2 separate regions of the Homo sapiens genome follow, and region 1 is linked to region 2. Evidence: promoter capture Hi-C in 16 types of primary human blood cells and fetal thymus (Javierre and others, 2016). All regions are on one chromosome and are shown on one strand. The core of a region is centred on a gene start or on the middle of the fragment in contact, and the rest is flanking DNA. Distances in the headings are between cores, read along the strand shown. Region 1 has its middle 26 kb from the start of LINC00954. Region 2 holds the start of RDH14 (retinol dehydrogenase 14).

What was found. Contacts are between HindIII fragments. The CHiCAGO score rates a contact against its expected background, and 5 or more counts as called.
Region 1: a fragment that was not itself captured here is called in contact with the fragment with the promoter of RDH14 in region 2 in 2 of 17 cell types (activated CD4 T cells and M2 macrophages); the score reaches 7.9 in activated CD4 T cells.

Annotation. Positions count from the first base shown.
Region 1 is chr2:19,841,167-19,845,130 of GRCh38, forward strand. No RefSeq gene overlaps it. Among named protein-coding and RNA genes, the nearest start is that of LINC00954, 26 kb to the right of the region's middle. The HindIII fragment of the contact is 3,629 bases long and covers 422-3,964 here.
Region 2 is chr2:18,557,562-18,561,968 of GRCh38, forward strand. RDH14 (retinol dehydrogenase 14) reads right to left here and starts at 3,092. Exons shown (of 2, transcript NM_020905.4): 1 at 2,619-3,092. The coding sequence starts at 3,011. The region is part of intron 10 of NT5C1B-RDH14 (NT5C1B-RDH14 readthrough); the gene reads right to left. It overlaps LOC105373456 (a long non-coding RNA gene), which reads left to right and starts at 2,615. Exons shown (of 6, transcript XR_007086234.1): 1 at 2,615-3,130. RefSeq lists enhancers at 2,252-2,301, 3,112-3,161, 3,222-3,271, 3,282-3,501 and a silencer at 2,512-3,021. The HindIII fragment of the contact is 4,929 bases long and covers 1-3,871 here.

The DNA.
Region 1 (3,964 bases), core at 986-3,485, 1.3 Mb after region 2:
GACACTCTGAGTCCGATCCTGCTGTAAGACTCCTCAGGATTGACAAACCTTCAGCAAAGGCTTTCATAACCCCTCCCCTCACAGTCACTGGTCCAGGGGAGAGGTAACTGCCCACTCATTTCTGGCTTCTATGCAAAGTAAAGCAGCACCAGTAGCCCAAGGGTATGAGGGAAGTCCTTCAAAGAAGAGCTGCAGGCTCCAAGTGCTGGGGATTGGAAGCAAGAGCATACCCAAGACAGCGGTGCACAAAATGGACAGGGCCAAGGGGAGTGGTGGTGCACTGTCATTGCATCAAATAACAGCATAACATCATAGGGTGACCCAACTAAAGCCAAGCTGGAATTCACAGTCTTTCTGGCCACATGAGTAGAAGTCTGGTCATTGCTCTTGGAATCTGTTTAAATGAGCTGGTATACACGGAAGCTTTTTAGGAGTGAAGGGATGCAGAGACTCCTGGGGAGACAGATAGTGTAAGGAGGGGAATGGGAACCATACCAGGGAATGGTATGGTGACTGTCTCTCCCTCCAGCCCAAGACAGGGGTTCTGGATCTCTGTCACTTGTAGCCAGAGTTCTAAGTAACACACTTTATCAGTTTGCTAGGAGGGGTATAATGAGCGAATGGATGAAAAAAGTCTTCATAAATAACAAATGTTGTATTACTTCCAAGTCACATTTGATGGTCTGGAAAAAACACTGAAGGGTACACATAATGGTCACTCAGTGAATATCTATTAAATGAATGAATCAAACTGGCTGAAGGAGGAGGAGGAAGAAGAAAAAAAGGGAGAAGAAGAGGAAAAAGGAGGGAAGGAAAGAAGAATAAGAGTGGGTAAGAGGAAAAAGAAGGAAGGGAAGGGAAGGGAAGGAAAGGGAAGGGAAAGGAAAGGAAGGGAAGGAGGGAGGGGAGGGGAGGGGAAAGGGAGGAGAAGGAGAAACCCACACACAGAACTCACTGTATCTGAAAATTCTAGGGATAGGTCTAAATTCAGGCATGGCTGATTCAGGCCCTCAGAAGCTGTGGACAGGACCGTATCTCTCACCAAACTTTGGCGCTGCTTGTCTCTGTGTCGCCTTCATTCTCAGGCTCTGTCTGAAGTAGCAATGCTTCCACCAGTGGCTCTCAGTGAACATCCTACCAGCTTAGCACCCTCATGGCCCTTTCCTCATAGCTCCAATAGAAGTTCCATGATTGATTCTGATTCACTGACTTGAGCCATCTGCCCATTCTTGAACCAATTACTGTGACCAGGGAGATGGAATAAGCAGATCGGCCAGCCCTGGGTCACACGTTCACTCTGGAGCAGCTTACAGGTGGGTGGGGGTCGGTTGCTGGTCCCACCTGAACTGCATGAAATGAGCATGGGGGAAGGGGATTTCGCCCAAAGGAGAGCTGGGGTGCTGCTTGTTGAAGTAGAAAAACGAGGTGCTGGACATGCAAAAATCACAGTCTCCTACGTTCCTGTGTGATACCAAGACTGCTTCTGCAGCAGAAAAGGCAGAAAGAAGGGTGGGCCCTTAACTTCCATAAGCGATGCACTCTTAGATGTCTATGAACTATAGAGTCAAGGAAATTCAAATGTTTGTACCAGATCCAGGCTTTCTCTTGAATCACAGGTAACTGTTTTTCCAACTTCCATTAGTTTTCTCTCATTTGGGGAGCCATTTTGAACCATTAGAGAAGCTGTTAAAATGGTTTCAGGAGATGCCTGGTGTTTTCTTATAGAACTCCTGGTAAATTCATTTACACCATTGGAGTGAGTCCCTGCTGAATTCAACATTCCTTCTTCTAATTTGTCCAAAACTTCAAACGCTCATTTTCTTAACCCACCCAGTTTCTCTATACATCTATCTCCAGCAATAGTTTTTGGCATTCTTTAATGGTCATTCCTTTTCCCACTGGAACCAAGTGTTGAATCACCTCATAGCAGTTACAGTGTCCATGACGATGAACAGAGAATGTGAAAGTGGCTCTGAGGTGTGGGCAGCTTGCTGAGTGCTAAAGGTCTCTGAGAGAGACTCCTGTGGCCTTTGCCTCTGAGGATCTACTCACCCTTCTGCTGATAAATGTATTCTCTCCTCCACTCTTAGATCCTAGGTTTTGGTGGAGCTTCTCACCATAATTAGGGCTGGAGCCTATAATGTAAGCCTAAAAACCAACTAGATTATCACAGCTCCCCAGTCACAACAATTAATTTGGGACTCAGTCAGAAATAATGAGAGGCAATGAGACACTGGCAGAATTTTCTGGGAAAGAGACCGCTGCTATTAATATTTCCTGCTGGACTTGAATCTGAGGGAATATCAGGTTGGGAGCTAAGGCTGCCATTTAGTACCCTGAGAGACGGATCTGGCCTCCAAATGGAGTCAATCCAGAGGAAGTGGAGTTGAAGGTGAGGAAGAGGGAGAGACGAGAGAGAGGCTAGACCCTGGTGACATTGACTGAGTGAAGTGCCACCTGAAACCAGCCCAACCTCTGCCTTTTAAGAGAAGTGAGTTGATAAGTTCTCTTTTTGCTTACCCTGGTTTGTGCTGGGATTTCTCTCCCTGGAGAGCAAAAGTTACCAAGTAGATGCAACCCTATTGTATTTCAATACCCTCTCAGTCCCCACCAGCCCATGGGTTGACATCTGGTCACATTAACAACAGCACAATGGAGGCTCTTAGCTTCCATGCACTGCACATGGACTCAGCACCCCTCCAAGTCTCTCTCTCTTATTTCTTAGTGAAGATTTCACCAGTGGGTGTCTTATATGTTCAGGAACAATTTTGGTCATGTTCTTTCCTGACATTCTCTTATAAAATGACTGTGGCCAGAGGAGTGGGATGAGACCACTGACCTCATTCTGATCATGAGCAGGGCTGGGAGGAGAGTGAGTACAGCTGGCAGCCTCCATGAGGAGCACTCAATTCACATGGAGGAGAGGCCATCCATGGAGAAGAAGGGAGCACTATTGCCAGAAGAACAGAGAAGAGCGAGCTAAACACACAAACAAGGGGGCCCGCCATGGGTAGAAGGGCAAGAAGTGCTGAGACCACCCACTGATGAGGACAGGAAGGCCTGGGGGAGGGAACACATGTGCCAGTGGTCACTGGGTGAGAAGGTAGTGGGGCTCAGACTCAAGCCCAGGGGACCAGGGTGCTCCCCCTGCTCACCCATGCCTTTGCTGGAGAGCCATGAACAGTTTAGCAAGGGTCAGGAATGTGTGAAAGTTCACACTGCCAGTTCTGCCCAATCCACAGTCAAGTTCAAGTGTATTCCTGGATGGGGAGCAAAGGCAAGATCTGTCTGACAACACCAATTTCCCCCAACCTGAGTGCCAGCCCCCAAGGCTCCCTGCAATATAAACTGCCATGGAACACTGGCCTTAGACCCCTGCAGGCTTCCTACCCTCAGAAACAGCCATTCTATGGAATTACAATGTGGGGCAGGCTTGATCCAAACACTCCTGACTCACTGCATTGCAGCCATGCCCTGTGGGCTCTGATCACACAATTCTCTCACTCTTGATGAGCTTATTCCCCTGCTCCTTCATACTTTCCTCTCTCCCATCATCCCGGAATTCCCTTGCTCATTTCTATAATCTAAAGTCTTTCCTCTTCTTTCTCTAAGATTTTTCTTCTTCAAACCCCACCCCAACGTTCAAATCTGAGACTTCTCAATAGAAAGAACCCCAAATTGGAAGCAGGAGGCATGGGCGAAGGAGCCAACCCTGGTGCTGCCTCCTTGGATGACCTTGAGCCAATTCCCACACCTCTCTGGGCTCCAGCTTGCTCTTTCCAAGGCATTGCAGGCAAACGCTGGGATTCCCCATGTCATCTGGCCCACTATGAGCACAAAAGATGCCCCGTCTTCCACCACCCCTGACCCCAAGCCTCTGTCCCTCACACCAGGGCTGCCTTCTGTCCCCAGGTTAGACCTGAATGATGGGAAGAGATGTTCTTGCCCCTGGAGACCGGGCAAT
Region 2 (4,407 bases), core at 1,842-4,341:
TTGTCATTTACTATTTTTTTAAATTCTACGAGATAAATGAAATAAATACCAAGAATACCAACCTGTGGGAAATCTACATTTCCATTTTTTTTTCCTTCTAATTATAGTCACTTAACTTCAGAGCCAGGCAGGAACAGAAATACTTACTTAGAAGCAAGGACAACTTAATTATCTCTTTGTGTCCTCACTTTTTAATTAGTTCTGCCTCAAGTGCCAAAGAAGCAAACCCAGCCCCATCTATATTTTAAAGAGGAACAGAAAGATCCATCTTTAATGCTTCCAAAATCTCACTGATGAGTATTATTTCTTAACCTGTGTTACACATAATTAAATACTAGCAATAAACAAAAAACCAACTCTCTAGTTCTGCAACAGCTCCCGAACTGTGGCCTACAGCATTGCAGCAAACTCTCAGGGTGTTGTGGAATATTTTAAATTTTCGAGGGAAACACAGTGATATTTGCTCAATACCTCAAAACTACTAGCTCCAGGTGGTTCACAGCTTGAACATTACATTGTGCTATATTCCTTTCAATGACATTATTTCTTTGTGGAGCTGACTTTTAAGCAGCTGTTAGCAGTTGCTGTAATAAAAAACAAGAACAATGCTAAAAATCTACCTAGAACAGGAAATGAGGGTGGAAGTGTCCAATCTGATTCCAAGGTTTCAGACACTGGTGTAATGACCAACAGAGATACATTTCCCATTAGTAGTTATGGCTGTTTAAGAACAAAATAAACATATTATTTTTTTCTTTCAATTATGTTATCTTCTCAAATAGCTACTAAGTTGTTAGGACATAACTACTTATTAGGTTGTGTCAAAGGAAAATAAATCTCAGAACCCAAAATCACTAAGTCAAAGGTTAAAGTCAAGCTGGGAACTGCCTCAGACAAACCTGCCTCCCATTTTATTCCTAAATAAGATAGCTACAAAGAAAAAGAAGCTACATATCACCCTCATAATTTGCCCACATGGGCCTCAAGATCTTTACCCTAAAACACTTCTGTTGAATTTCACCCTGGCAATGTATTCATAAATTGATAGCTCATCTTCACAAGTGCCAAACAAAAGACAGAACTCTAAAGTCATCCTTCTGCTCACCTGAGATAAATGCTTATCTGATTGCTGACTCTGCCGTATTGTTTATGTGAAAATGCAGACTCACTGAGCCAGTCTAAGACATAAGTGATTATTCCTCTATCCCTCCTGCACATGTAAATTGTATTCAGTAAAAGGCTAATCAAAGACCCAAAAGAATGCAACCTTTTGTCTCCCATCTACCTATGACCTGGAAGCCCCCACTTCGAGTTGTCCCACTTTTCCAGGAGAACCAATGTATACCTTACATATGTGATTGATGTCTCATGTCTCCCTAAAATGTATAAAACCAAGCTGTGCCCCGACCACCTTGGGCACATGTCCTCAGGACCGCCTGAGGTTCTGCCACGGGTGCATCCTTAACCTTGGCAAAATAAACTTTCTAAATAAATGAACTGGGAAATATTTCTGGCCTAAGGGCATCATGAAAAAATTACTGAGAAAATTTGGGAACCTCTTCTCTAGACTCAAGAGACTCTACGTCATATAGGCACCTTTCTTGTCCCAGCTAATTTTAAATTTCACTCTTCTGAACAAATGCCCTCTGAATGCCAGTTATCCCTGCAAGAAACTCTTCTACCTCAATCTCAACGGAGAACATCCACTTATGTGGAATTACTTACCATTTGCACAAAGAAATCCTCACACCTCACTGCCAGGCAGCAGGAGGAAAGAACAAGGGTTAAAAGCAAGTGTTCTGGAGACAGACCACAAGCAAGTTTCTTAGCCTTCCTATGCCTCAGTTTCCTCGCGTTGTAAAACAGGGATGATAATAATGCCTACTCCACAGGGTTACTGTGTAGCTTCAATGACAGTTATAGGCAAGGACACTTCATTTTCATTTAAGACAAAAAGGAAAATCTGAAATGCTTGGCACAGCTCCTGGCATACAGATCTTCAATAATGCTGGGTGTTATTTTTATTCCTGTCTCTGTATGGAGCATGACCACTGGGTTCCAAAATGTATTCTACTTGGAAATCAGGCCACAGTCCCGTTAAGGATGGTGCTGAGTTTACTGGTGGCAGCGAGCTCCTTACCCCAGCAGAAAAGGGGCAGAGGCCGGGGGAAGGAGAACTTTTTTTAAAGGACTGATATGAGGTCCTTAGCTAGCAACTTCCCCCAGTGCTCAGGGGTTCTGAAGACACAGCTTGGTGCAAATTCACTTCTGACACAGGAAAAACAATTCAGAGGCCATGGATCTACTTCGGGGCGGTCCTCACGTAACGAAATGAAACGTTCAGAAACTGGTTTATTTATTTTTCTCTTGGGCCCATTTCTTTTTCGACATCCTTAGAGGACAGAAGGCAGCCCTCCCAGTTAGTTTCTCTTTCCCTCTCAACCCTGCAGCTTCCCGGCCGCCTCAAAGTGGCTTTTTGGACTCCTCTCAGCCTCAGCGGTTCCCAAGGTGACACCCTGAACCCCAGGGCGGTCCCTCGCGGCTCAGCCCCAGCCCGCAGTCCCCTCCCACACCGTGCCCAGGCCCTCCCCACCAGCCCGGCCCCCCGAGGCCCACACCTGGAGCATTTCCTGGCAGAAGGCGCGCACCGAGCGCAGCGAGGCGAGGTCCAGCTCCCGGACTATGAGCTCGCCCACCCCGCTGACGCCAGGCTCTGGGCCGCACTCCGCGGCCTGGCGGAGCTCGCGGCGGAGCTGACCCGCCGCCTCCTCGGCGCGCGCGCGGTCCCGGCAGCCCATGATCACCCGCGCTCCCAGGCGCAGTAGCTCGGCGGCCGTGGCGCGGCCCAGGCCGCTGTTCGCCCCGGTGATCAGCACAGTCTTCCCGTGCATGAGGCCGGGGTCCCCGCCTCTGCGCAGCCGCTGGACCCTGGGCCCCACGAACCGGCGGGCCGCCAGCCACAGCGCCCCGCCCAGAGCGGCCAGTACTGCCGCCGCAGTGGCCACTGCCATCGTCAGGCCCGAGGGCCCACCGGCCCCTCCACGGGAGTTCCGCAGCCGCCGCCTTACCGGAACCCAAGAGACCACCTGTACGCGGAGAACGCTGGGGCGCGGCGGGTCGGCCCCTGACGGTGCGCGTGGGGCATGCTGGGACTTGTAGTTTCCCTCTGGGGGGGTCGCCTGATTGGTTGTGAGAGTTCAGCGCCCTGGGTCCTGCGCCCTCCGTGGAAGCTCCTCCCAGCCTAATGATGGAGGCTGGGCAACCAGCACAGTGTTCAGGGTGCTGGGGTTCATACGTATTGAAATCCCAGAGTAGTGGCGGACTTCCCCATGGGAATGTCTGATGAGTACTTTGAATCACAGATCTCTGTACAGGCCCTGTTACAAATGCCACTCCTCAGGGCATTTCGTGTGTTTTCCTTTGAGGGCTCTTGGGACTTGTAAATTCAGTTCAATTCACCTTCTGAGGAATGGGCCCTGACAAGCTGAAGTCTGAGGTAGGACTGTTTTTCATAGATGAGACAAAGAATTAAGCAACATGAATCAGTTGGAAATAGAATGGTCGAGTAGTTCTCAAACTTAAATGCACATCAGAATCACCTGGAGGACTTGGGGTGGGGGTTCGGGGTGGGGGAATGAAACAAAACGAAAACAAAAAACCAGGGCCCCAGTATTAGAGTTTCTAATTCAATAGGTACAGGATGGGGCCTGATAATTTGCACTTTTAACAAGTTTCCAGGTGCTGCTGCTGCTGCAGATCTGGGAACCACACTTTGAGAACCACTGAACAAGACATTATGTCATTGGTCCCTATTAAAAAAAAGAAAGCCATCTTCAAATGATCTTCACACTGGCAGAGGTACAGTGGGAAAAGCTTGGACTTATTGTAAATATAGGCTTCTGAGCAGGCCATTTACAAATGCCTCCCTGCCCTCTCCATAGGACTATTACACACAACGATGGAAGGCAAAGTGCTTGGCTCACTGTAAAATGCCTCATTAATATCAGGGTTAGTGTCACAGGGACCCTTCTTCAAGCTACAAACTTCATAGCTGTAGACCAAGCTACTTTTAAAGACTCATTCGTTCGTCTGCCTCTCCATCCAATATGTGCCTGGCCCTGCCTGTTCCCTGTTAGAGCCACAGAGAAATGGGACACCATTTCTGCTCTCAGGGTGCTTACTTTCTGGAACTGTGATCTCCCACTTCCCACCCTCCACCCATTGCAGGTTCTCCAGACAAGGAAAAAGAACCACAGCTTGTGTCGTTTGAGACAAACTCCCCAATAATTGTGATAATCCATCTTCCACTCCCTTACATTTGGGAAGGATGTAACATGCAACTAATAGTCAGAATACAAAGAAAAAGGGATGGATTCCAGGAGGTTTCTTATGAGTAATGAGAATGGA